Linked DNA regions of Homo sapiens: regions 1, 2 and 4 are each linked to region 3. The links are contacts of gene promoters, found by promoter capture Hi-C in human tissues and cell types (Jung and others, 2019). All regions are on one chromosome and are shown on one strand. Each heading gives the region's core, a stretch centred on a gene start or on the middle of the fragment in contact. The rest is flanking DNA. Distances are from core to core; before and after follow the strand shown.

Region 1 (6,805 bases), core at 370-2,869, 500 kb before region 3:
AAAATTCTATTTGGCTAGATTAGTGGTTCTAGACCTGGGATTTTTGATGCAAAATATCAGGAGCTTTCAAAAAGTACTGATGCCTGAGCACTACTCTAGGAGCTCAGCTATAATTGATTTAGGTAGGATGACAGCCCTGGGCTAGAACGTGGGGTGCAAACAAAAGGAAGGAAGTCTGGAAAAATAGGTAGGAAATCTTGCATGCCAGGCCAAGAAAATTGTGGTTAATTCAAGAGGTAGTGCAAAAGATAGAGTGGGTATCACATCCACTGTTGAGAGATGGTGGATGTTTGCGAGAGGGCAGTTCACGTGATGAGAGGCATACCTAAGGAAGAGTTATTTGGCAATATTAGTATCTGTGTTAAATTAGTATAGTAAAATGATTAAGACTGTAGTAAGTGAGGCTGATTAGGAGGTATTATCACAGTACAGGTGGGAAGTAGAGCTACCCAGAACTAAGGTGGTGAGACTGGAAAGGAAGAGGTGAGTACAAAAAGTACTATATAGGTAGAATCTGTAGAACCTGAATATTAAAGAAAGGGAGAGAGATGAATCAGAGATGACTGAGGTTTTAAGCCCAGTTGACTGGGAGAATTGGGGAAGGGTGTTGCGGCTAGTTACAGAAATAGAGGAGTCAGAAAGAAAAGCTCATTTGGGAAAAAGCTAACAAGCTCATATTTGGAGATACTGAGTTTGGGAGTCAGTGGGCAGACTAGATGAAGGTGTCCATCAGATACTAAATATGTACATCAGAGGTTCTCAAGGCTCTCTGTTCCAGCCTGGACCATTTCTCAGAGACAGAAAGCAAATGGCCCCAAACTGCTGGCCTTTGGGTATTTAATGAATTGTCTAATGAAAGGACTATATAACTGTTTTGAGTTGTATTGAGGTACTTTGCTAAAAGTATTGTGATGTTGTAGGATGCATACAGTTTATAAGAGGATTAAATCTGTGAAATGTATTAAACAGACACCTTTGCAATATAAAAACCTATTATTTCACTCATGTATCTTTGCTTTTCTTTTGGTAGAGAGATGGAGGAAAAAGTCACTCTGCTTAATGCACCTACAAAGAGACCAAGGTAATGTTCAAGAGACTCTTAAAAACTAATATATCCGAAATTACAACCAGGGGGTTCTTTCTTGAGTGTAGGCATTATTTGATCCGAGGATACTTTGGCATCCTTTCAGGAGCCAGCATCTGCTTAAATGTCAGACAGTCATTTCTAAGAAGAAAGCTATAATTTCACCCTCACACTAAAGTGGCCATCATTACCATGATGAATGTGGAAAAGTGTAGGTGTTATGGGTCAGACTGGAATCTGATCTGGCCAAGCTGTGATGAAGCCCTGAGGCAGGAATTGCAAAGTCTGCTGTGATAGAGCACATTGAAACAAGTTGTCGAGAAAGAACATACTTTCTCATACCATAATTGGCAGTTCTTCTCAGGGAACAGACTGGAAGCATTTTTCTTTGATATTGTTTTTAATGTTAAATGTTCCTTTGTTCTGGGGGTTGTTGGCAGGTCAAGCACTGTGACTGAAGCACCCATTGCTGTAGTAACATCACGAACCAGTGAAGTCTATGTTTGGGGTGGTGGAAAATCCACCCCCCAGAAACTGGATGTTATCAAGAGTGGCTGTAGTGCCCGGCAGGTCTGTGCAGGGAATACCCACTTTGCTGTGGTCACAGTGGAGAAGGAACTGTACACTTGGGTGGTAAGTGAACGCTAAGCATTTTGGAACAGTGCTGTAAGCCTAATTGTTTACTGGGCCCACGATGTCTAAGCATTTTATTAGTTGAACCTATACTAAGGGAGTGGCAACATGGGGTGATGGAATGGAAGCTCTTATAAGAGCAGGGATTTTGTCTGTTTAGTTCACTGATGTATGCCCAGGGCTGGTACATATTAGGTCACCTATAAATGTTTTTTGAATGAATGAATGAGAGAGGGAGAGAAAAATTGAAAGACTCAGGAGACTGGGGTTTCCCATTTACAGCTGGATGATTTCAGACAAGTCACTCAATTACTCTGTTATATTACCATGAGGTTCAGAGCAACTATTACCTGTGAAATAGCTTTGTAAACAAAGGAAGGACTATACCATGTCAGGAAACCCCTGAAGCCCACAGCAGTGATTGAAGATGGCTAGGTATATTTTGTGTAGAATTTGTTTGTTGCCCTCTAGATTCTCCCCTCTCACCTTCCTTAACAAATTGTCTGTGTTTGCTGTCTGTTTCCTTATCTCCCACTCTCTCTTCATTCACCTACAATGCAGCTTCCATCTCTGCCACTGCCACTCAATTGAAACTAGTCTTGACAAAATGACCCATAAATTGCTAAAATAAAACAGATGCTTTTTAGTCCTTACCTAGCTTGACCTCTCGGCAGCATTTGACATAGTTGACCACTCCCTCCTTCTTGAAGCTTTGTCTTTACTTGCCTTCTGTGATAGCATGTTCTCTTGGCTTTCCTCCTGTCTCTTGCTATGCGTTCTCAGGCTCATTTCAGGCTGCTGGAGAGAAATTAGTATCTTAAACATTTATTGGCTGGGCGTAGTGGCTCACAACTGAAGTCTCAGCACTTCGGGAGGCCAAGGCGAGTGGATTGTTTGAGGCCAGGAGTTTGAGACCAGCCTGGCAAACATGACAAAACCCCATCTCTACTAAAAATACAAAAGTTAGCTGAGAGTGGTGGCGCATGCCTGTGATTCCAGCTACTCAGGAGGCTGAGGCATGAGAATCACTTGAGCCTGGGAGGTGGAGATTGCAATGAACCAAGATTGCACCACTGCACTGCAGCCTGAGTGACAGAGCAAGACCTTGTCTCAAAAAAAAAAATATATATATATACTGTCACACACACACACACACACACACACACACACGCACACGCACACACATATATATATAAAATATGAGGACTTGTAGTATACTCATTTAATAGAATTATTTTTCTCTATAAAACTGTTGAAAAGGCCAGACATGGTGGCTTACACCTGTAATCTCAAAACTTTGGGAGGCCGAGGCGAGTGGATCACCTGAGGTCAGGAGTTCGAGACCAGCCTGGCCAACATGGCAAAACCCCATCTTTACTAAACATACAAAAAATTAGCCAGGCGTGGTGGCGGGCACCTGTAATCCCTGCTACTTGGGAGGCTGAGGCAGGAGAATCGCTTGAACCCAGGAGGCAGAGCTTGCAGTGAGCTGAGATCGAGCCACTGCGCTCCAGCCTGGGTGACAAGAGCGAAACTCTGTCTCAAAAAAAAAAAAAAAAGTTGAAAAGTCATCAAGGACTAGTCTCATTGCTGTATAGCAGCCTCTTTGATGTAGCCAGATTCTTTATAACTCTTCCATGTTTCAGGGAAACTGTGACCAAAATTTATGAAACTTCTAGTACAGATTTTCAAGAAGCTATATTCCTGTAGAAAGCAACAAAGTTAGACTATATTATAAAGAATTTTTTTCACCATCACCTGTAATTAAATATATAGTTTACCTTAGACTTGAAGGACAAAGATTAGATTAATGGATATTAATCTGGATACTTTTTAAGTTTTCTTTACCTGTTGGCAGGATCTGTATACTACTTGCTATTAAAATGTTTAATCCCTTTGCCCATTTTTTTCTAATTTCTAAATTTCTAGCTCTTTTTTTCTACTGTTTTTCTTCATATGAAGTTCCATTAAAGATCAGCTTTTGGCATGAAAAATTAAAACTTCATAAGACCTCTCAGCCGGGGATGGTGGTTCATGTCTACAATCCCAGCACTTTGGGAAGCCGAGGCAGGAGGATCACTTGAGCCCAGGAGTTCAAGACCAGCTTGGGCAACATAGCGAGAACCCATCTCTTTAAAATTTAAGTTTAATAAAATGTAATTAAAAAAAAAAGTCATAAGACCTCTTTATTTCACAGAACATGCAAGGAGGCACTAAACTCCATGGTCAGCTGGGCCATGGAGACAAAGCCTCCTATCGACAGCCAAAGCATGTGGAAAAGTTGCAAGGCAAAGCTATCCGTCAGGTGTCATGTGGTGATGATTTCACTGTCTGTGTGACTGGTAAGCCATCAGCAGAAAGTGTCTTAAGTGCATTTAATGTGGGGGTATTTTGCTTAATGCTGTGCAATCTTAGTTGGGATTTTAAAACAAAAGACAGTATACAAAGAACCAGAGGACCTTGAGCAAATATACTCATTAATAATAACATACCAAATTTGCTATAGTATTAGGGGGTGGTGAGCAAGGAGAAGACAGGTGGGTAACAGAGAAGAGGTGGGATCAGGAGAAAATGTGTGTCGTGGTTGGCAGGAAAAATAATCTTACCACCTCATCAGGCTATGAATAACACAAAATTAGGATCAAGACCTAAGTTTAGTTTTGGTCTTGTCATTACTTAGTTAATGATTCCTTGGGACTTATTTTTTTATCTATATAACAAAGATGGCCCCATTAAAATTTTAAGTCCTTTTAATGTGATAATGCTACCACTTTTTAAATTGTTTAATATAGTAGTAGTAGTACACATGACTCTCTGACATAGAACTCTAGACTTGCACAGTCTGTCCTTTTAATTTCTTGGATATAATCAATTCATGTGAGATCATTTGCTGGGGTAGTCCTCATTCCAGCCCTGCCCAACTTTCTGATTAGATAAAATAAGTCAGTCCTTTGATGGATTCTGTTTTCCTTTCTTTTGCAGATGAGGGTCAGCTCTATGCCTTCGGATCAGATTATTATGGCTGCATGGGGGTGGACAAAGTTGCTGGCCCTGAAGTGCTAGAACCCATGCAGCTGAACTTCTTCCTCAGCAATCCAGTGGAGCAGGTCTCCTGTGGAGATAATCATGTGGTGGTTCTGACACGAAACAAGGAAGTCTATTCTTGGGGCTGTGGCGAATATGGTAGGGGTAGCCTTGTCTCTGTCCACTTCTTCACAGGTATACAACCTGACTTCAAAGTTGTATGCATCTAAACCCATCATGCAGCCCCTAAATGAGAAGTGTTAATTCAGTAAATCTTTTTTTTTTTTTTTTTTTTTTTTCTCGAGACAGAGTCTCTCTCTGTCACCCAGGCTGGAGTGCAATGGCATGATCTGGGCTCATTGCAACCACCACCTCCCGAGTTCGAGTGATTCTCCTGCCTCAGCCTCCCGAGTAGCTGGGATTACAGGCACACACCATCACACCCAGCTAATTTTTTGTATTTTTAGTAGAGATGGGGTTTCACCACACTGGCCAGGCTTGTCTCGCTCGAACTTCTGACCTCATGATCCACCTGCCTCGGCCTCCCAAAGTGCTGGGATTACAGGTGTGAGCCACCGCACCTGGCAAAAGAGAATCTTACAGAACCTATTCACTGGGAAGGAAGCCCTCATTATAATGATTTTCATTCTTATGTGTGTTTCAGGACGACTGGGTTTGGATTCAGAAGAGGATTATTATACACCACAAAAGGTAAAATCAGAAGCAACTTATTTCTAAAACCTATCTTAAGTCGCACAGACTCCAATAATATGTCCTCTTTCCTTGGCTCTGTTGTATCAAGGTATTTATTTCCGAAGTGTTTCCTGTTTGGGAGACTGACAATTTAGGATTCCTGATTTAGCACCCTGTGGTCTTGTCATCTGACCAAATCACAGAAAATTGAGAAAGTGGATACAGCGACTGTGGACATTGTGAAGTCACATCTTACTCAGGGATGACAGCTAAAATCAGCGTGTACAGCAGAAAAGTCACATATAGCTACAAATACCCTGGAAAACTCGAGAAGATACTGTAAAGCAGTATACTGTCTCTTAACCCAACACAGCCATTTTCCTCTCCTGTTTCTACAGTTGACCACCAGATGAAATATTAATAGTTGTTTTTGTTTAGCGGTCATGTTGCATGAAACATATTATCTAATTACTCTCAGCCTTGCCAGAGCTGGCCCTGTGAGAGGCTCACAGAGGCTGATACCAGCTGGGGGAAAAGCACAGTCACATCTCTCCCACCTACCCTAGGGCACAGGCTTACCCATTGGAGGGTTGGCTAAATCAGCTATACCATTTATTGTTAGCAGTGTTTTGGGTTTTCTGTTTTCTTTTTTTTTTTTCTTTCCTTGGGAACTTTTAGCCAAACCAGTTTTTATTTATATTTTAAAAATTAAATTATTATGCATTTCTAGGGACCATCCTCAATGGGATTCCCAGCTGTTCCTTTTCTCCTGGAAAGGCTGTGGCAGAAACTGAGGGTTGAGGTTTCAGGTTTTACACACATCCATTGTGACCCCACACATGCATCACCCCACCTTCTCCAGTCCTGTCTAGTTAGCTGTAAAAAGATATGAGCATTTGGAAGTCCTAGATATTACCTCAGTACTCTGTCACCTCTCCTATAAAATGACCAGATTGGGACCCCACAGGGCTACTGAATTTCTGTAACTGTCAAGCAGCCTTCCATCTCAAAGGACAAAATCAGCAATGAATTGAAGCTTCTTTCTCAACTTTTTGACAGGTCACCCTAAGTAGGACCTATTACTAAGACAAACTGAGAGGGTGCTGTCTTGTTTAGTTGACCTGGAACTGTCACCTTTTCTTTGATATTGTAAAACTTGAGCTCTTCGTTGACAACAGTAGCCTTGACCGAGCACAATGGCTCACGCCTGTAATCCCAGCACTTTGGGAGGCCGAGGCGGGCAAATCACTTGAGGTCAGGAGTTCGAGACCAGCCTGGCCAACATGGTGAAACCCTGTCTCTACTAAAAACACAAAAATTAACTGGGCATGGTGGCACACGCCTTTAATCCCAGCTACTCAAGAGGCTGAG
Region 2 (7,278 bases), core at 369-2,868, 390 kb before region 3:
CTTTTTTTTTAATAGAGACAGGGTCCCACTATGTTGCCCAGGCTGGTTTTGAACTCCTGGTCTCAAGCAATCCACTCACCTTGGCCTCCCAAAGTTGTGGGATTACAGGTGTGAGCCACCATGCCCAGCTATGTCACAATTTCTTAAAAGCCCCACTCCTCTGGGATTTTCTGCCTGCCCTCTTCCAGAAGTACCCCTACCTATGAACCACCTCTGTCACTACAGAGCTCCTTACAACTGATTTTGAAGACAGTAGATTCAGCCAAGGAATGGCAATCTGGGAAATCCTAAAGTGCTGAGAATAGGGTAAAGAGAGCTTCGGCCTAAAAGAAGTCTTCCTCCAAAAGGTGGCCACAACACTTCTACATGAGAGAGACTGGCCAGAGAAGAAAAAATGGGGGAGCAATTTGGAAGCAGCTTCTTCATCCTCTGATTACAATGAATATCTGCAAGTCACTTGGACCGCAATGACAAGGGGGATAGAAATGGTATACGTGTACGTGTGTATAAAAATTCAGATAGTGAAGGAGGTCTATCGACCTTGGCTCTCTAGGGAGTTCATTTTGTTTCTTTACAATGAAAATAAAACTCTGTCCTAATAGAGTCTGTTCCACTCCACAGATCTGTAGTCTATCAAGGGTTGGTCTGTAAGGAAAAGTAGAGAGGATTACTTTGGTCCTGTCACCTGTTGCAACATTTCCTAATCAGGAAGGAGGACAAACCTCTGAGAACCAGAAGACAGCTAATCTCCCATCTCTGCTAATGAACAACCTTCAGAGGCTTCTGTTCCCTTATGTGCCTGTGACCAGTCCCATTTTCCCAGCGATCAGGCCTCTTACCCAGCTCCACTAGCAGCTCATTAATCGCCTCAATGATGTTGGACTGGAGTTGGGCATAATGGAAGCTGAAATCCTCGTTTAGGCCTCCGGATGTCAACAGTTTGTGCAGGGACTCCTGCTGATCACTCTCGTCGCTGCGTCCATGGAGTCTATAGAGGCAACAAGACCCAAAGAGAGAGGTGGGGAGGAGTGGTCAGGCAGGTAACAAGGGCTGTTCAGCTCCAATAAAGTCTCCGAGCAGGTAGAGGGGCCCGTGCAAAAAGTGTCACTGGATCCAACCAGGAGCCCAGGACGTGAGCCTGACCTGCCATACTCCTCCCGGATAATCTTGAGCACTCTCCGCACCATGTTGCCCACGGTGGTCTCGGAGGGCTGAGCGGCCGTCATCCTCCTGCCCTCTCTGCGGATCAGCTCCATCAGCTCCCCTACAGTCCAAAAGAGAGAGGATAAGAGGAGCCAACGCGAAGTGAGGCCTGGGAAATTTTCAGCCCTGGGATCGGGAACAGACAGGGGCCAGGTTCGCCGGCGGAGGCAGGCCGGCCTCACCCGCGTTGCTCCAGCGGTGGTCCGTGATGATCTGGCGCAGCAACCCTAGGGTCTCCCGAGCCATTTCCTCGGAGCTGCGCGGCCCACCACCCCGCTTCAGGGTCTCCACGAAGCTCTCGATCCTCTCTGACAACTCCGAGCCCTTCGCTGCGGATCCCGGCATCTTTAAGGTAGCTGCCTTCAGCCTTCACCGGCGGAATCCACACCTGCCAGACCACACAGTTTGCACTTCCGGGGCGGGCGAGGTCGGCTTCCGCTGTGAGGGGATGGGGGGAAACCTCAAGTTTGAGTGGAAGCCGGCTACGCCCTTCGTTGCCGATCTCCCGCCCCCTTCCTCTGCCTGAGCCAATCAGAGACGTGGGGCTCGGGTTGTTCAGTTATAACCGGGCGTCCGCGCGCCCCCGCGCCTCGGGGGCTGGAGGATCGGAAGCGGCCTTTCTTGGCTCAGCCGACGGTGAACGGAAGTAACCCGTCAGGCCTGTAGAGGGTGGCTGGTCCCGTTGCTATGGGAGCAGCAAGTCTCTACGCGCCCCTCACCGCGACTTAAGGCTACACTGAAGAAGTTGCGGCACTCCCTCCTGTCTTCCCAGCTCGGTGACTGCCCGAGCTGTCACTCCCGAGTGTCAGCTGACACTGACGCTCTGAATGCATGTCCAGGGTCGGCTGCCCCTTGGGCAGACGTCTCACTTTTGTTCTGTTACATTGCTTGGTACCGTTTGCGCCTGTGTCTAGGAGGTTCATGTCTCTGAAAACAAGGACGATATCTTTTGTTGCTTTTGTATTCTCAAGGCCTAACACGTCTAACAGAAGACGGCGAAATTAGAGATGAGGAAGATTAAGGAGATTCAAAGTGGGAGCCAATACAGAAGCAAAGATGACATCCTCTGATTTGGACAGAATTGTCCTCCTACAGAGAGGCCAGAGAGTATAACATAATACCAAGAGTTACCATTTACTTAAAGCTTACTGGTTCTTGGGCACTGTGTGTGAATTGTCTCAGTTAATAAGGTCTGAAATAGGTCCTCTTATCCCCATTTTACAGATTGGGAAACAGACCCACAGAATTTAAGCAGTTAATAAAGGATTGGGTTCATACTTAAATCCAGGTCTACCTGAACCCAAAGTATGTGTGTAATAGAAATCTCTATTTCCTTAAGATAAATTCTTCAAAGTGGAATCCATAGGCGAGCACATTTTAGACTTTTGTTACAATTAACAAATTGCCCTCCAAAAAGATTATGTCAATACCAAAGTTAGCCAAAGGTAGTACAAAGAAAAGAAAATTACAGATTAATATCTCTCATGAACATAGAAGCAAAAATTGCAACAAATTATTAGCACATCAAATCCTGCAATACATAAAAAAAGAATAATATGTAATTACAAAGTGAAACATAAACCTGGAATGCAAAGCTGATTAAACACTTAAAAATCAATGTAATATGCCATATTAACAATCTGAGAAGTAAAACCACATGATCATGTCAATTGATGCAGGAAGAAACATTTGACAAAATTCAATATTCATGGTACAAACTCTCAGAAAACTAGAACAAAAGGGAACTTCCTGAACTCGATAAAGGGTATCTACAAAATCCTACACCTAAAAATCATACTTCACAGTAAAAGATTGCTTTCTCCCTAAGATCAGGACAAGGCAAGGATGTCTACTTTCACCACTCCTATTTAAATTATACGTGAAGTCCTAGCCCTTGCAATAAGGCAAGAAAAAGAAAAAGCATACAGAATGGAAAGAAACTGTCCCTGTTCACAGAAGACATGATAGTGTACACAGAAAATCCCAGAGTCAACAGCAACAAAAACAAAACCTCCTAGAACATAAGTTTAGCAAGGATACAAAAACTATATTTCTATGTATTAGCAATGAGCATCAGAAATTGAAGTTGAAAATACAGTTGCTCTAAAAAGCCATAAAATATGTGTCAATTTTGCTGTGTTTTAGTTTTTATTTATTGATTTGTTTGTTTATTTTGAGACAGGGTCTCACACTGTTGCCCAGGCTGGAGTGCAGTGGCATGCTCACTGCTCACTGCAGCCTCAACCTCCCCTGGCTCAAATAATCCTCCCACCTCAGCCTTTTGAGTAGCTGGGACTACAGGCACACACCACCATGCCTGGCTAATTGTGTGTTAATTTTTAAATGTCTTTAAAATTGTATCAATTTACATGCTGGCTAGCATTTACCATATTATAGCCAATTTTGGATATTGTCGTTATTTTTTCATATATCAAGTCATTAAGAAAATAAGGTATATAGGCCAGGCATAGTGGCTCATGCCTGTAATCCCAGCACTTGGGGAGGCCAAGGTGGGCAGATCACCTGAAAGTCAGGAGTTTGGGACCAGCCTGGCCAACGTGGGTAAACCCTGTCTCTACTGAAAATACAAAAATTAGTGGGGGGTGGTGGCATATGTCTGTAGTCCCAGCTACTAGGGAGGCTGAGGCAGGAGAATAGCTTGAACCTGGGAGGTGGAGGTTGCAGTGAGCTGAGATTGTGTCACTGCACTCCAGCCTGGGTGACAGAGCAAGACTGTGTCTCAAAAACAAACAACAACAACAGCAACAAAAAAAACAAGGTATATAGTATTTTATATATACTAAAGAATTTATATGTGTGTGTATGCAAGTTATAAAGCATGACGACAAACAGGTTGAGGAATGTGAACCAATCCCTCACTTTGAAACTAAAATATTCGAATTAATAGAGATAGAAAGCAAAGCTGTGTTGGCCAGGCACAGTAGCTCACACCCGAATCCCAGCACTTTGGGAGGACAAGGTGGGAGGATGGCTTGAGCCCAAGAGTTGAAACCAGCCCTGGCAACATATCAAGACCCCCAGCTGTACAAAAAATTTAAAAATTAGCTAGGTGTGGTAATGCATGTCTGTAGTCCCAACTACTTGGGAGGCTGAGGGGGGAGGATCTCTTGAGCCTGGGAGGTCGAGGCTGCAGTGAGCTATGTATGATCCTGCAGTGAGCTATGATCCTGCCACTGCACCCCAGCTTGGGCAGCAGGGCAAGACCCTGTCTCAAAAAAGATAAAGGAAAGAAAGAAAGTAGAACTGTGATTGCCAGGGTCTGAGGGGAGGGAGAGAGTTGCTGTTTAATGGCTACAGAGTTTTAGTTTTGCAAGTTGAGAAGAGTTCTAGAGATAGATGGTGGATAATGGTTGTGCATTTATTTATTTATTTATTTATTTATTTTTTGAGACAGGGTCTCACTCTGTCACCCAGGCTGGAGTGCAGTGGCACGATCTCAGCTCACTGCAAGCTCCGCCTCCCAGGTTCACGCCATTCTCCTGCCTCAGCCTCCCCAGTAGCTGGGACTACAGGTGCCTGCCACCACGCCCGGCTAATTTTTTTGTATTTTTAGTAGAGACGGGGTTTCACCATGTTAGCCAGGATGGTCTCTATCTGACCTCGTGATCCGCCTGCCTCGGCCTCCCAAAGTGCTGGGATTACAGGCGTGAGCCACTGCACCCGGCCTGGTTGTGCATTTATATTTCACAACAATGTGAATGTACTTCATGCCAGTTTAGTTTCACTAAACTGTACACTTAAAAAGGTTAAGATGGTAAAATTTATGTTCCGTGTTATTTTACAATTTAGGAAATATGTGGTATATTTCACTTTTTTCTGCTCAATATGACATTCATAAAATTTATCCATGTTGTTACATGTACTTGTTATTCTCTTATTTGCACTGGTGAATTTGTACTGGTAAGAACTTGTAGTTCTCTTATTTGCACTAATATTTCATGTGACTGTAGCATAATTTATGTATTCATTTTTTTCAACAGATATTTGGGTTGTTTCCAATCTTTTTAGGGGGGTGGGTGAACATAAACTATAAATAGTCCTGTGTATGTCTTGGCACTTATATAAGTGGAACAGCTAGATCAGAGGCTATACGAATGTTCAACTTTACAAATAGATCTAGTAGTACAAAGTGGTTCAATTAATGTATGCTCCCTCCAGCAATATTTAAAGACTTTCAGCTGACCTACATCCTTACTGACATGTGTTATTACCAAACATCTTATTATTTGGGAATCAGGTAGGTATAAAAGTATATTTTACTGTGGTCTTAATTTGCATTTTCCTGATTACTGTTCATATTTTCATGTGTTTGTTGGCCATGAGTTTTTTGTGAATTGTTTGTTGTGCCTTTTACCTACTGTTTTTGGCTTAAAAATTTTTCCAAGTAGATTTGTAAGAGTTCTTTTTATATTCTAGATACTAATCTTCTTTCAATTATTTATTATATAAATAAGTGTCTTCTCCCAATTATGGCTTGTCTTCTTTACTTTGAGATGTCTTTGAACAGAATTCTTGATTTTAATGTGTTAAAATGTATCAACCTTGTCTTTTTTACATAATGCCTTTTCTGTCTTATTTCAGAAATTCAGCCAAGTGCAGTGGATTTGCCAGGTGTTGGGATTACATACCTATAATCCCAACAATTTGGGAGGCCAAGGTAGGAGGATCACTTGAAGCGAGGAGTTCTAGACAAGTCTGGGAAAAATAGCATGATGCCATCTCTACAAGAAATTTTTTAAATTAGCCAAGTACAGTGGCAGCTACTATGTGCCTGTAGTGCCAGCTACTTGGGAGGCAGAGGTGAGAGGTTTGCTTGAGCCTAGGAGTTTGAATTTGCAGTGAGCTGTGATAGCACCACTGCAATCCAGCCTAAGCAACAGAGTGAGACTTCAACTCAAAAAAATAAAAAAATTTAAAAATCCATCCAGGTGCAGTGGCTCACGCCTGTAATCCCAATACTTTGGGAGGCCAAGGTGGGAAGATCACTTGAGCTCCAAAGCTTGAGACCAACCTGGGTAACAGAGCAAGACCTTGTCTCTACAAAAAAAAATTTTTTTTTAATTAGCCAGGAATGGTGGCTCACACCTCTGGTCCCAGCTACTTGGGATGCTGAAGTGGGAGGATCTCTTGAGCCTGGGAAGTCAAGGCTGAAGTGAGCCGTGATCATACTACTGCTCTCCAGCCTGAGTGGCAGAGTGAGTCCTTGTCTGAAAACAAACAAACAAACAAACAAAAAAACAGAAGACATTCTTCCCTAATCCACAATTATAAATATAATCTCCTATATTTTCTTCTGATTACTAAAACATTTATCTTTACATATAATTGGAATTGGAATTACATATAATTTGGAATTGCTTTTTATGTAAGGTGAGAGGTGTGAATCCAATTTTATTTTTCCATTCTTTCTCCAGTGATTTTTAATGTCACCACTGTCATATGTCAAGTTTCTATAATATGTGAGTCTGTTTGGTGGCTATTTGGTTTCATTGCTGAATTTGCCTATTTCTGAATCAATATGATATTATCTTAACAATTGTCTTTTTTTTTTTTTTTTTTAAGATAGGGCCTCACTCTATTGCCCAGGCTGGAGTGCAGTGGCGCCATCACAGCTCACTGAAGCCTTGACCTCCCAGGCTCAGGTGATTGATCCTCCCACCTCAGCCTCCCCAGTAATTGGGATTTACAGACACAAGCCTTTTGTATTTTTTGTAGAGATTAGGTTTTGCCAGGTTGCCCAGGCTGGTCTTGAACTTCTGGGATCAAGCTATCCACCCCCCTTGGCCTCCCAAAATGCTGGGATTATAGGCATGAGCCACTGCACCCAGCAACTATTGTTTTATTGAAAAGTTTTTATCTCTGGTAAGAAATTTTTTCTTGCTTAATTCTTTTCTTTAAAAATTACTTAACTAGTTTTGAGCCTTTGCATTTTTATTTTATATTTTATTTTATTATTATTATTGTATTTATTTATTTATTTTTTGAGACAGAGTCTTGATCTGTCGCCAGGCTGGAGTGCAGTGGCGTGATCTTGGCTCACTGCAGCCTCCGACT
Region 3 (7,098 bases), core at 4,460-6,959:
AGTCCCAGCTACTTGGGGGGCTGAAGCTGGAGGATTGCTTGAACCCAGGAGGTGGATGCTGCAGTGAGCCGAGATTGTGCCACTGCACTCCAGCCTGGGTGACAGAGTGAGACCCTGTCTCAAACAAACAAACAAACAATAAATGAAATATCAGTTGGTAAATGGAGGAGTAGTAATTGACACCTGCCCCTAGCCCCATGACAGGGTAAACAGGGCTGGCTAGCTAGTTTGTCCTGAAGAGAAAAATGGCAAAAAGAACATCATTATCTCAACTTTCAGATAAGAAAGTAGAAGCCAAATGAAGCTCAGAACTGTGCTGCATTCACAGAAGACGGAAATGAGCTCAGAACTGTGCTCCGCTCACAGAAGACGTAAATGTTCACCACATGTTTGTGGGAGGGCCCTTTCCAGCACACTCTGAAATACAGGCCAGCTCACCTTACCTTTGCAGGAACATCCATACCATGGCTATCACCACCAGCCAGCATGTCATACCCACTTGGAGGAGACAGGCACCGGCAGACCAGGGCAGGGTGGTTGTGAATTCTTGAGGGGACGCCAGGTCATGGCACCTAAGGTGGAATGGTTCTGGCAGCCTTTGCGGGCCTTAACAACCTCACACAGGAGGGAGTCGGCACCTCTCTGTACGGCCTGCACCTTCCAAACTGGAGGCTGAGGCTGCGCAGTGCTGGGGTCCCAGCTGCCCAGTGTCTGGAGCAGAACATCCAAGCCCATGAGCGGCTCCCGTCTGGAAGGCTGGGGGCCCAGTCAAACTTTCCTTCAGCGATTCTGCCCTCTGATTAACCAGGAAATGTGTTATTTGTTCTGAGCAGGGGAACAAGCTCTCCTGGGGAGAGGAATTCAGGGCTGGAGGTCCAGTTACTTCCAAGCAAGAAAAATCCCTGGAATTCTTTCAGGAGTCTGGGTCTCAGCAAAGGGGGCCGAAATGTGGCCCTTGTTTTTGGTCCTTATTTACCAAATTAGCTCAGGTTCTGGTAGACCTCTGGCTGCCAACATTATTCCAGTGAGACATGGAAAAGCAGTGAGTTTGCCCTGGGAGTCCAGGAGACTGCTGTCCCTTGCATGGGGCATGTGTCTGGGCAAACCTTTCCCTGCTGGAATCTCTTTATCAACCCTTTAGACTCTCTCTGCCGGGTTTTCCAGAGATGATTTTCCTCTCCAGACCCAAGAGATGGGTGAGTAGGCTTAGCAGCGATCTAATGAGGGAGAAGGCTTTAATCAGGGGGTGGGGAAGTGACACACGGTGAGTCAGCGGCCATGCTGAAACAGCTTCCCTTCTTTCACTGGGCCAAGAGGATTAAGGGTGGCAGAAAGTTCTGATAACTCCACATCTCCAGGTACATGAGCTCCAGGTACATGAACAGTGGGCTGGCAGGCAGGGAAGAGGGCATTTGGGGATATGCCCTAGAGCTCCTTTGGTGGTGATAGTGGTGGGGTGGTTGGAAAGGTCATGATTCAATTGTGAAGAGGGCTCCAGGCTTACAAGCCCGGGGTGGAGGCAAGGCGGTGTAACCTTAAAAGCTTGGGCTCAGGTGGAAAATGATCCAGGTTTGAATCCTGCCTCTGCTATTTATCAGCTGTGCCATCTTGGGCAAGCCAGTAGCCATTGCCAACCTCAGTTTCCTCCTTTGTATGCGTGGAAATCATAATGCCTCCTTTGGTTGGTTAAATCAGCCAATTGATGTAACATGCTTAGTATGGCGTTTGGACTAAAGTAGGCTCTATCGATTTTGGCAGGTTAAAAAAAAAAAGCAAAACTCAAGTGTTTGTGGGATTGGAGATTCTGAAGAGCTGCAATCAGTCCCAGCAGTTAGAGGGTAAGGGAGATATGGGCAGTAAGTAGGTGGCAGGACAGAGTGTGGCGCCGGGATGGGGTAGAAGATGCCAGTCTTTGGAGTAGATGAACTGGGTTATGGTCCCCAGGCGAACAGGGTGGGAACGTCCAAGGACCACTTGTACTCACTGAGGAGTGGAAGGGGCGCCCGATGGTGAGGGAAAGTTGGTCTGCGTGAGGGTTTTGGCGGAGGCGAAGGGTGAGGGATGAATGGGCGGCAGACTTCCAGAAATGCAGACGGAGGAGACGGAGCAGTAATAATGACTTGGACACACAGGAGGAAAAAATAGCTCAGGGACGAAGATGATGCCAAGGTTTCTGGCTTTTGGAGGCCCACGGGGATCTGAGGTGGGTCTTGAGGGATCTAGAGGGGAGCTTCTGAAGGAAGTGGGTAGGTTCCGGGGAGAGGAAGGGAGCCCAGAACTACAGAGGTGGGTGGATATCTGGGCAAGGAGAGGTAAGTGTGGACCTGGGGCTTCCACAGCTGTGAAGGAGCAGCATCCCAGGAACAGAACGCAGCATTCTGGGAACTAAGGGGCATTCATGGTCAAATGCAAGGGGTAGGGTTCAAGGAGATCTTTAGAGCCAGCCCCAAAGGCAGCAAGCACATGAACCTGGATCAGGAGCTGCCACCCAGAACTCAGTTCCTCTCTCTTAAAATGGGTCTAATGATACCAGCCCTCCCCACTTGATGGGATTACTGTGTCCTTCATTCAGTTAGCTATCCATTTCACACATACTTCTTGGCTGTTCTAGGTTCTGCAGAAACAGTGGTGAGCAACGCAGACAAGATATCTGTTGCTTTAGAGCTGTCATTGTGGTTTGGGAAGTCAGACAAGAAATGATTTTATAGGTTGTTGAATAGGACTTTTCCTCTGCTCTTGGAATATCTGCTGAAGCCACAAAGATAGAACAATGAGGGCTAAATATTCTTGCATTCTGAAGAGAAGTACTAGACACCTTACTAAAGGCAGAACAGGTTCAACAGCAATCAAACTACATCCCTCAATTCCAGTCTACAAATGAAAGGGATTGAAGAAAGTCACTGAAGCATAACACTGCTGCATTTGTGGGCAGGGCTGAGATTTCCCCTGAGGGAACTCCCCAACTCAAACCAAATGAAGGGAGCTCCCAGAGAGAACCAGTCATCTGCAAGAAGAGGAGGCTCTGTCCCTATAACTGTCCCCCCACTGATGCTGACTATGTTGCTGGATGTTACAGGCACCTCGGTGCATTAAACTACAGCAAGACAGTTCATGGGAGAACCCAACATATGTCTTTAGGAATTGAGGACGTACATAAATGAAGAGACTTGTGTGCACTTCCTGTCTGGAGAATTCTGATCGTGGAGCCTCGCTGGAGTGGCCTGTGTGGCAAGGTGAGAAGTGGGCAGGGTGAGGAGCGGCCAACCCACCATTGTTTTGCCTGGCATAGGTGGGACAGTCCTATGAGAGACAGAGGATGCAGGGGTCTCCGAGAGGTTGGCCAGAGAGTAATTTGCTATGGCAACTCAGGGTGGAGGTCCTGTAGAGAACCTCCCAAAAACCCACATATGTGCCCATGAAAAAGCCAGCGCTTGGCACCTGCCAACCAAGGGTACCTGTCACATAAGACTTTGCTACTTTTCCTCTAACACCTCTCTCCCAGCCTTGACAAAGAGGAGCCACAGCAGAAAAGGGAGGTCAGGAAAACAGACCACACCCCACTCTCACCACTGCAGGATCTCTAGCAAAGGGACAGGGGAGAGGAGGACTATTAAATGGGATGTGATATTGATTAACTTGGATGAGATTTTGATCTGGACAGGAGCAGACTTTTTGTGTCTGAAAATGGGTCTTAATTATATTAATAGAATAGTTCTCGTGTCTGGTAGGGATGACCTCTCAAGCCAAGGACTCTGCCTGAGATGTCATTAAGGGTGGGAAAGGGAAATTTACCATAATATGGTTGAAGGTAGTAGTGGAGCAGTTTCTGGATAGTCCCTCTTTAGGTTCAGCCCATTAAAAAATTCAGTTACACGAGCAAACAAATCAATAACAAGATGATGTCAACTGTTTTATGAAGATGAAACAGGGTGGTGTGTTAGAGTCATGACTGGGGTGAGGGAGGGCTGCTCTAGATTGGAGGTCAGGGATGGCTACTCCAGGAGCTGATATTTAATCTGAGAGGAGCAGTGATGAGGAACTACCCTCTAACATCCTGGAGAGGAACCTTCCAGTAGAGGGAAGGGGGCATTCACTTGGCTTGTTCAAGGAGCAGAGAGAGGGCCAAGGCAGCACAGTGTGGTGGGTAAGGGAGAGCAAGAGGCCAGATGAAATCAGAGCGGGGGCAGCCAGCTAGGGTTTGTAGGCCAAGGCCAGGGGTCGAGGCTTTATTTCAACAGTAGATATTACCTGGGCTTGTCTTTTGTGTGGTGTGGGAGGTTGTGAACTGGTGCCCACATGCCAGCTCCTTCACTCTGCCTCTCTGGGAAATAGGCTGTACAAATGTGCCAGGGGCAGCCCTGTTGATCCAAGCCTTTAGGCTGTAGGGAGGGAGCATGGGTGAGAATGGTGTGCTGATTACTGGGGACACGCAGACAGCGGCAGTCAGCATTCCCACACCCCTGCCCGCCTCCCTGCTAACACAAGATGTGAATGCACACACTGGGTCAATCGGGGTCACCGAATCCCCCTCTGGGAAATTCCCGAGAGAGTGAAGGGCTGGGTGGGATCCCGGGAATGGATTCAGCCAGAGGCGGGAGGCCTAGATTCCACTCCCCTCTTTCACATGCGCTATCTCCTTGAGTGACTTACTCAAGAGGCTCCGTGTCTTTGCCTCGGTGAAAAAGAGGACCCCTTGGCCGGGCGTGGTGGCTCACGCCTTTAATCCCAGCACTTTGGGAGGCCGAGGCGGGCGGATCACCTGAGGTTGGGAGTTCGAGACCAGCCTGACCAACATGGAGAAACCCCGTCTGTACTAAAAAATAAAATAATATACAAAATTAGTCAGACTTGGTGGCGCATGCCTGTAATCCCAGCTACTAGGGAGGCTGAGGCAGGGGAATCGCTTGAACCCGGGAGGCGGAGGTTGCGGGGAGCTGAGATCGCACCATTGCACTCCAGCCTGGGCAACAAGAGCGAAACTCCGTCTCAAAAAAAAGAAAGAAAGAAAGAAAGAAAAGAAAAAGAAAAAGAAAAAGAGGACCCCTCTTCTACCGGCAGCCATCACCGCGCCAGGCTCAGGCGTGACCCTCACGCCAGTGGAAGGGGATTGAGATCCAGAGCGAAGGCGGCGGCGCCAGGGCATTGCAGCCACGGAGCGCCAGGGCCGCCAGCTCCGCCAGGGGGCGCGCCCGGGACCTCCCTGCGCTCCGCGCGCCGCGCCCCGCCCCGCGCCACCCCCGCTCCGGCCGGCCCTGCGGAGGGCGCCCCCAGCGGCCAGGGCGCAAGCGGAGGGGGCGGCGGCCCTGTTCCCCTACGCGGGCCTCGGCGCCCCTCCCGGCTTCCTTCAGACCTGCAAGGCTGCAGCCTGGGTCCCCCGATCCAAAGACGGTCCCTGAGGCGAGGGGCGGGAGAACGATTCGGGGCAGGTCTGCAGTTCGAACTTGCCCAGAGCAGGAGAAAGGCGGCCCAGTGTCCCGGTCGTGGCAGGCGCCATCTGCCCGACCAGCGCCTGGGTCAGCCCCGCGCCGCCCCCTGCTCCGCACGGGTTAATCCCCCTCGCCGCCCGCTCGCCGCCCGCTGGCTTCCCGGTGCCAAAGTGGGTGTTGCTGGAATTCCTCGCTCCCTCTCCGGTAATGAGGGGGCTGAGCTGTCCCTCCGAGGAGGGGGCCTGGTGTGGATAAAAGAGACGAAAAAGCCGGGGGAGGTTTCCAAAAATAAAACCGTCCGGGTCCCCTTCAGACGGCTGCAGGCACAGGGAGGAGGCGCGAAGGTGCAGCAGCCGTGCGAGCCCAGCTGGAGTAGGAGCGCGGACTCGAGGCTCGGGGCGCGCAGCCCTCGTTCCGCCGAGAGCCGGGCCCCCAGTCGGCCGCTTCAGGGCCCCCTAGACTCAGAGAAGCTGGCCGCCGGGCGGGGCCGGGAGAACAGCCCGCGGGCGTCCAGCGTGCCGACCACAAAGCTCTTCGCGGTGCCCGCGCGCACCACTCTCCAGCCGCCCCGCGCCATGAGGCCGCGGACCAAAGCCCGCAGCCCGGGGCGCGCCCTGCGGAACCCCTGGAGAGGCTTCCTGCCGCTCACCCTGGCTCTCTTCGTGGGCGCGGGTCATGCCCAAAGGGACCCCGTAGGGAGATACGAGCCGGCTGGTGGAGACGCGAATCGACTGCGGCGCCCTGGGGGCAGCTACCCGGCAGCGGCTGCAGCCAAGGTGTACAGTCTGTTCCGGGAGCAGGACGCGCCTGTCGCGGGCTTGCAGCCCGTGGAGCGGGCCCAGCCGGGCTGGGGGAGCCCCAGGAGGCCCACCGAGGCGGAGGCCAGGAGGCCGTCCCGCGCGCAGCAGTCGCGGCGTGTCCAGCCACCTGCGCAGACCCGGAGAAGCACTCCCCTGGGCCAGCAGCAACCAGCACCCCGGACCCGGGCCGCGCCGGCTCTCCCACGCCTGGGGACCCCACAGCGGTCTGGGGCTGCGCCCCCAACCCCGCCGCGAGGGCGGCTCACGGGGTGAGCATGGGAGAGGGAAGTTTGGAGGGTACAGAGGGGAGCCAGGGCTCATTTGTGGAGGGGCGTGCAGGCGAGAGGAGAGGGCGCCGCTCTCATACCCTCGTCCCTCTGTCTTTAGTACTTCGGGAAACAGCCCCGAGGTTCCAAAATCGGGATTGGAAGATTTGATCCGCTTTCGAAGAGTTGAAGGCAGATAGATCATCATCCTCATCCTTTCTTACCAACTCTCCCGGAGCCCCGACGTTAAATCCTTTCGCAAGGCGCCTCTCCACTCGCCCGCGTTCCTCCTGCCTGCAACTAACGAGCTCTTGTAGACTCTTGCAGCGCTGCCGGGATCTGAGAGGCAGCGGGGAGAGGGCAGGAGGGTGGGCGCTCCAGGCTCTTGACGCCCAGGGGAGGTTGAGCTGGCTCAGAGCGCGGGTTGGCGGAGGTGTCGGGGGCCCCATGGAGAGAAGGTAGATGCGTCTCCAGGAGGGGAGCCGGCAGCGAAGCTGGTGCGTCGGGACAAGTGTCGTGGGGCGTGGGTCGGCCTGCGCACGCTGAGGGCTGGATGCGGGCGTGGGCGTGAGCTCTGGGTACTTTGGGCGGGAAGCGTGTCCTGAT
Region 4 (7,169 bases), core at 2,120-4,619, 300 kb before region 3:
TTCAGCAGCCTGAGGCTCCGGCCCATTCGCACGCTGAGCTCTGCCGTGGAGCAGCTGAGGGGCTGCAGGGTGGTCGGGGTCATCGAGAAGGTGAGTGAGTGGACACTCGCCTTGCAGGAGGGAGACAGTGTATGCAATTTGGGGTGGCGGTGGGGAGAGAGACATGATATGCTGAAAGCAGGTCTGTAGCAGTGGCCCCCACTCCTCCAGAGGAGGTGGGCAGGGGTCAGTGGGGAGTGCGAGTGCAGTTGTTTCCAGCAGTTCCCACCTCTCCCCCATCCCTAACACGCATGACTTTGGTCCTGGGTCCTGGGGAGGAAAATGCAGGGAACGGGAAGAGGCTGATTGGCCAGCCACAGTGGCTCACACCTGGAATCCCAGCACTTTGGGCCAAGCACCAGGCCAAGGCAAGAGGACTGCTTGAGCCCAGGAGTTAGAGGCCAACCAGGGCAACATAGCAAGACCCCATCTCAAATAAAATAAAATATAAAATAAAATAAAATAAAATATAAAAAGAAGAGGCAGACAGGCCCTTTCCACAGCCCTGCAGCTCAGATCCAGAAAACCTGCTCCTTGGGAGAGTTGGGACAGAAACTGCAGGAGGAGCGAGGAGCTATGCCCAGGGCACCCTGCCAGTCCTCGAGGCCCTGCTCACTCCCACTTCCCGCTTCCCACAGCACCCCCACCACACTCACCCTGAACCCCAGGGCTGCAGCCAAGACGCTCTACCGAGCACAGCTGGGGACTTCCTGCGGCTGGGACGTGCTCAACTCCAGAAACCTGTCCAGAGAGGGCCCGTTCTGGCCCGTCCTTGCCCAGGGCCTTGGCAAGTCTGCCCTTTTTTTCCTCTCCTGACCTAACTGTAACTTTACCCTGTCCCAATGCTATCTCGCATGCTTTGCCTTATTCAGGGCAGACAAGAAGATAGGAGGCGACGTCCCAACCCTTACTCGGGGCACTCATTGTTAGAGTGCTTCTGATTAGAAGGACAGACAATGAGGTCAAATCAGAGTCCAGCCAGTATGAGGTTCCCCTCTTCCCCTGAACCCTGGAATAGTCACCCAAGAAGTTCTTTACCAAGCTGGCTAAATGGAGAGCTTCCTAAAAATACAGATGCCCAAGAATCTGTTATTTAACATACTCACTGGGTGATTTTGGTAGATCTGGGGGCCCACAGAGAAAAGGAGACAGTCCTGTACTTCCCACAGGCAAGAGGATGACATGCTGCCTGAGGGAAGGCCCCGCGCTGGGCACCACCCCGGGTGGCCACGGGCAAGCCCCCTGCTCTCTGAGCTGTGGTTTCTTCCTCTGGAAAGTGAGATGAGAATTCTCCCCCAATGGGGTGATCTGGGAGGTAAAACAAAACAATTTTGGGGAAAGACCTGGCACATGCTGTGACACTGAGTACGTGCTTGATGGCTCTAAATACAAGTGACAGGAGTGAGCTGGGAGGCACGCAGGCTTCTGCTCCCGGGCCTTACTCCAGCTGCTTCTCCTGGGTCCCTGGGGCAGGTCCCAGACTGTCAGCGCAGGCCCTGCCAGCTTCCATCTGCCACGGTCCCCTCCCCACTGCTTGAGTGTCAGTGGCCACGACCCAACCTTGGCTGAGCACAGCCGTTCCCAGGGACTGGCCGGGAGGTGACTGACACCGTGCCTCCCGGTACGATCCCGCTGAACCATAGGTGTTGTGGTGAGAGGGGTTCTGAGCTGAGTATGATAGGAAAACAGCGAGTTGAAGTTATATGGCTTTGTTTCTTAATGATCGGAGTTCTTAGAGTGTTTAGGTGCAGATGTACACTGTGACACAGAATTCCCCAAACTTGTTTAGCCTCAGGAAAGTGGTTTAGGAATCCAGTGTTTCGAGGCCCCTGCAGATGGAAAGCACAAATTAAAGCCAAGCCCAACCATTTTTTTTTTTTCTTGACACAGGGTCTCGCTCTGTAGCTCAGGCTGGAGTGCAGTGGCGTGATCTCGGCTCACTGCAGCCTCGACCTACCAGGCTCAAGCAATCCTCGCACCTCAGCCTCCTGAGTAGCTGGGACCACAGTCTCAAGCCCTGCTATTGTCTTCTATTTTTTGTAGAGAGATCTCGCTGTGTTGCCCAGGCTGGTCTCGAACTCCTTGCCTCAGGTGATCCTCCACCTCCGTTTAGGCCTCCCAAAGCACTTGGGATTACAGGCGTGAGCCAGTGGCCCGCCGCATTCTATTTCAGGACTACCCTTCTTTTTTTTCTTTTTTATCCTGTCTTGGGTACTCAACTTAAGGACTTCACCTCCCTCCTGAGATCCTACTTCCTTTCCCTGTGTCATGCCCAAGCCAGGAGCATCACTTTCCTCAAATTAGGAAAGGTGTTACTGCCCCTGGGCCTGGGTCCCTGCAGCCAGACTTGGATATACTGTCACCCTTGTTCCATTCCACAGCTGTGCCCAGACAGATCTGGGCAAGTGGGCAGTGCCAGCCAGCAGCAACCCTCAGGCCCAGGGAGGAAGCAAAGGGCTTGCTCGGGATGATGCTTGAGTGACCCCTAACGTGTCCGGCTGTTAGGATAACTAAGGGCTGAAGAGATGGTGGCAGGGAGCAGTGAGGTGGGTGGGTCGGGACTTGGCAAGCAGCCAGAATACCCGAGGGCCTGGCCTCAGAGCCTGGGGGCCAGGGAGACATCACCGGGTATTTGCTGAGCCTCGTGCAGGAGCCAGGCTCTGAGACAGGGTGGAGGAAGAAAAAGAAGGTCATCCAAGTCACTTCTTCTTTTATTTGGCTTAAACACAGGGGTGTTTTTTTTGTTGTTTGTTTTTTGGGTTTTTTTAGTTGTTACCAACATTTGAAAATGTGCAGATTCTTATAAAAGTCCAGATTTCCTGCTTCTCTTGAAAAAATCAGATCTGGAAACGCTGGCCTCCCATTCCCCTGTGGCAGCAGGGAGTGGAGGAGGAGATGCCTGCCTTAGACGGGGCACCAGCCCTCCTTTCTGCGCCTCCACCCTGCCTATTTGCTCACATGCCTGGCCCCTGTGGACCTTTGAGTTTAAGAACTTGTTTGAAACCTTTAGGCTTGTTTGTTCCATGGGAGAGTCCTCCTGGGATTTTGATACTTTGTGCATCTTTAAAGAAAAGGTTTACCGTGTTTCACCAAAGCTTTAATTGTCCCTCTGTCCCAAGAATTCAGTGGGTCTCTTTATTTAAAACAATTGCTCTTTTTTAAAAGGTGAGAGAAAGCACTCAGAACTGCCTTCCATCTTCCCAAATGGAAGGCTCACCCGACAGTTGTATGGAACCTTCTCATTTACAGAGCTGTGGCATTAAATCCTCACAGTCACCATGGGGGAACGAAGCCTTATAGGGTGCTGTTCAACACAGTAGTCACTAGGCACATAAGCCTCTGTGCATTCATATTCATTAAAATGAAGTCATCTGTGTCTCAGTTGCACCAGTCACATTTCAAGTGCTCAATGGCCCCATGTGGCTACTGGCTTCCATATTGGACAGTGCAGACATATAATCCTGCCATCATGATAAGAAGTTCAATTGGACAGTGCTGCATTTTAATACTTGTCCTACAGAGAATTAAACTGAGGTTCAAAGAAGTCAGCGGGGCTGGGCGCAGCGGCTCACACCCATAATCCCAACACTTTGGGGAGCCAAGGTGGGTGGATCACCTGAGGTCAGGAGTTCAAGACCAGCCTGACCAACATGGTGAAACCCCGTCTCTACTGAAAATACAAAATTAGCTGGGTGTGGTGGCACATGCCTGGAATCCCAACTACTTGGGAGGCTGAGGCAGGAGAATCGCTTGAACTTGGGAGGCAGAGATTGCAGTGAGCTGAGATCACACCATTGCACTCCAGCCTGGGCAACAACAGTGAAACTCCGTCTCAAAAAAATAAATAATAAACAAAGAAGTCAAGGCACTAGACAGTCCTCCATCCTCCAAACCACTGAGTAAAAGGAGTTTCTTGTTTGGTTGGATGAATGGGAAAATGCCTGCTGCTTTGCTGCCCTTTTGAAATATAATGAAAGAAAAAGGAGAAGAAAAAGAAAATCCCCTGAATCCTGCCGAACTCCAAGATAATCACTGTTAATGTTTTAGTCTAATTATTTCTGAATACTGAGGTTGGTTTTAATATGTTTTTAACAGAAATCTTTCAGTGTATGGATCAAGGTTTATTTCTGGCCTCCTCAGCCTTCCCTCCTTCGCTAGTTTTTTTGGACTCTGTCAGTTACAGGCCCTTGCCCAGGACCAGGTGGTGGGGAATCCCACTTGGCAAGGGACAGTGGGGAATTATCTGGGGTGTCAGGATTTGTGGGAAACTCTGTTCTCCTAAATGACTCCAGAGTTTTCTTCCTTGCTTTTTCTAACATTGCACAAGTTTGGTCAGGGAGCCAAGCCCAGGCTGGACTCGGTCTCTGGCTGTTGGAGGAGAGACCTCTGGTGGTTGGAGAGGACACCTCGCTCCTGCTGAGAAAAGGGTCCTGGGCGCTCTCATCTAGTCCACTGCCTTCCTTTCACTGATGATGGAGAAACAGGCTCAGGAGGGAAGGCCATTGCCAGGGTCACCTGGTTGTGCCCCCAGTTCCAGTAAAGTCTGCAGGGCTCCGGGATCAGCCTGTCTGGGTTCAGGTCCTGACTTGACCACTTTTTAGCAGTGGGACAGTAGGCAACATAACCTCTCTGAGGCTCAGGCCTGAATTTTGGCAGGATTGTGGGGATAAAATTAAACAACCTATGTAAAGTGCTTAGCACAGAGTAACCACTTTACAGCCAGGGTGGGCTTCCCCTCGGATGACACTGGTAATAATCACGACAGGTTATCAAGGGTGTGTTCTGCGGCAGGTGCAGGCTGCTGCTCTGCCTGAATTGCCTGCTTTAACAGAATCCTCTTCAGGACCCCCTGAAGGAAGTGCTGCTATGACCCCGTTTTGTACTTAAAAAGAGCAAGGTTCAGAGAGGCCATGTGACTTGGCAGATGTGATCACTGACATTCTCACAGCCTTTCCACTCACCAAGGGCTTTCTTGGTTTTTTGTTTTTTGTTGTTTTGTTTTGTTTTTGAGATGGAGTCTGTCTCTGTTGCCCAGACTAGAGTGCAGTGGCTTGATCTAGGCTCACTGCAACTCTGCCTCCTGAGTTCAAGTGATTATCCTACTTCAGCTTCCCAGGTAGCTGGGATTACAGGCGGGCACCACTATGCCCAGCTAATTTTTGTATTTTTAGTAGAGACGAGGTTTCACCATGTTGGCCAGGCTGGTCTTGAACTCCTGACCTCAGGTGATCCACCCGCCTTGGCCTCCCAAATTACAGGGATTACAGGCATAAGCCACCACACCTGGCCCTCACCAAGGGCTTTCAGAATGGCTTCAACAATCCAGAGATGTAGGGAAGGTAGGCATTTGGAATTCCTGGTTGGTAGATGAGAAAATCAATTCAATTTGCCCAGGATCGAAGCCCAGTGCCCCTTCCCCTACCCTGATCCCAAGCTGTGGCCTTCCTCACTGCCCAGCAGCCTGGCCTCAGGGCCCAGTTCCCACCCCGACCATGGCTGGCCACAGCCTCCCTGGGGAATGTCCGCAGGGCAGGCCAACAGCCAAGGAGTCACAACCCCAGGGTGCTGGCCTTGCCTCCACATGCCCTCACCTGGGCTGAATCCTCTGCCTTCCCGCCCTCGACGTACCCATGTGCCCGCTCCTATGCTGGGGCCCGCCCCTGCCCACCATGCAGATGAGTCAAGGGCCCAACTCCAAACATGGCCCTGACCTTGCGATTGACAGCGTCTGCCTCTAATGGAAACCAACACAAGAAGGAGAGGCTGCTCTCCAAAGACGGCCTCTCAAGCGGACTTTACTTATTTATTTTAAATTTTTATTTGCAGTCAGGAGTACATGTGCAGGTTTTTCACATAGATAAACTTGTGTCATGGGGGTGTGTGTAAATGAAGGGGGTGGAGTGGAGTGGGAAAAAGGCCTGAACGCAGCGTGCCAAGCCCACACAACATGGCTGCGCTGGGGAGACCTGGAGTCACCTCAGAGCTGCGGCTTCCTCAGTTGTAAAACAAGAGATCAGAGGAAGTGACTGGCTCTGAGGTCCCTTCCAGCCATGACACCTCAGACCCTGCAGGATGTTGGGGCTCTAGCTAAGGCCTTGGGTGAGGGGTTGATCTCTGGAGGTCCAGTTGGAACAGGGCTTCTCAGTTGATCTCTGGGGTCCAGGTGGAACAGGGCTTCTCAGCTGATCTCTGGGGTCCAGGTGGAACAGGGCTTCTCAGCCCTCCCGTCAGGTGGCATGAGGCCTGGCCCAGCGTGGGCAGGGAGAGGGCAGGGCATTCTGCTCGCATGCCCACCACGCACACAGTGAGCCAAGGCCCGGGCTGCTCACAGTGCATGTGTCTAGCACCTACTACATCCCTGCACTGTGCAGGGCTCCGGGAATACTGAGCTCACAGTCCAGTGGGAGACAGATTAGACAGTGTGAAGAGGCTCTCCTAAGGGTGAACTAAGAGAGCATTGGAGGCAGATTAGGGACCCCAGCCCCTGTAATCTTGGGAAGGCTTCCTGGAGGAGGCAGCATCTGAGACCACAGGTCTAGCAGGGGTGGGTGAGCAGGATAGGATCGATGTCTGCTTCAGGAGTGCCACCAAAGCCCGCCCTCCCTGCCCTGCCACTGGAGTGAGTCAGCCTCAGTGGAGGAACCTGGGAGGGGGTCAGGCTGGGGTCACGGAGCCCCAGGAGCTAGTACCTGCCTTAACCAGTGCCTCTTGGACTTTGGCAGGTGCAGCTGGTCCAGGACCCGGCAACCGGAGGGACCTTTGTGGTGAAGGCAGGTGCCACCCTGCCCCTGCCACTCTGCATTCCCCTTGGATCTTTCTCAGGGCTCTTGGAAACTCCTACCCAGAACCTGCATTTGAAGCCTGCACTCCCTCCCACAAAAGCTGGTTGTTCTGCCTGAACATGCCCCACTTTCCAGATGGACACACATGCATGCACACACACACATACACATACACATACACATACACACAAACACACATGCACACACACTGCCCCCTCTTTGGCTAGAGGGTGGAGGACCCAGATTCTACAGGGGCAGTGGGGGTAAGGACAGGTCAGGAACTGAGGGAGGCAGTTGCTCCACCCTCATTCGGGTGCCCCTGAAGCCAGGGCTAGGAGGTCCCCTAAC

The links. Contacts are between HindIII fragments. The study calls those that stand out against the background at their distance.
Region 1: a contact is called between a fragment that was not itself captured here and the fragment with the promoter of LTBP2 in region 3, in 1 of the 25 tissues and cell types used here (lymphoblastoid cells).
Region 2: the fragment with the promoter of EIF2B2 here is called in contact with the fragment with the promoter of LTBP2 in region 3 in 1 of the 25 tissues and cell types used here (adrenal gland).
Region 4: a fragment that was not itself captured here is called in contact with the fragment with the promoter of LTBP2 in region 3 in 1 of the 25 tissues and cell types used here (lymphoblastoid cells).

Annotation. Positions count from the first base shown.
Region 1 is chr14:75,104,597-75,111,401 of GRCh38, reverse strand. NEK9 (NIMA related kinase 9) reads left to right here. Exons shown (of 22, transcript NM_033116.6): 9 at 1,031-1,081; 10 at 1,525-1,717; 11 at 3,915-4,059; 12 at 4,700-4,900; 13 at 5,406-5,452. Among named protein-coding and RNA genes, the nearest start is that of NEK9, 19 kb to the left of the region's middle. The HindIII fragment of the contact is 5,660 bases long and covers 1-4,449 here.
Region 2 is chr14:74,997,261-75,004,538 of GRCh38, reverse strand. It overlaps EIF2B2 (eukaryotic translation initiation factor 2B subunit beta), which reads right to left and starts at 1,618. Exons shown (of 8, transcript NM_014239.4): 1 at 1,386-1,618; 2 at 1,144-1,264; 3 at 840-988. The coding sequence starts at 1,548. RefSeq lists enhancers at 1,260-1,940, 1,982-2,071. The HindIII fragment of the contact is 11,364 bases long and covers 1-4,285 here.
Region 3 is chr14:74,610,848-74,617,945 of GRCh38, reverse strand. LTBP2 (latent transforming growth factor beta binding protein 2) reads left to right here and starts at 5,709. Exons shown (of 36, transcript NM_000428.3): 1 at 5,709-6,495. The coding sequence starts at 6,002. It overlaps LOC101928352 (a long non-coding RNA gene), which reads right to left and starts at 4,761. Exons shown (of 2, transcript XR_944029.4): 1 at 4,651-4,761; 2 at 3,898-4,379. RefSeq lists enhancers at 1-417, 5,026-5,653 and a silencer at 5,079-5,398. The HindIII fragment of the contact is 13,991 bases long and covers 1-7,098 here.
Region 4 is chr14:74,911,434-74,918,602 of GRCh38, reverse strand. RPS6KL1 (ribosomal protein S6 kinase like 1) reads left to right here. Exons shown (of 12, transcript NM_031464.5): 5 at 1-90; 6 at 6,762-6,809. Among named protein-coding and RNA genes, the nearest start is that of RPS6KL1, 8.2 kb to the left of the region's middle. The HindIII fragment of the contact is 7,214 bases long and covers 1-6,976 here.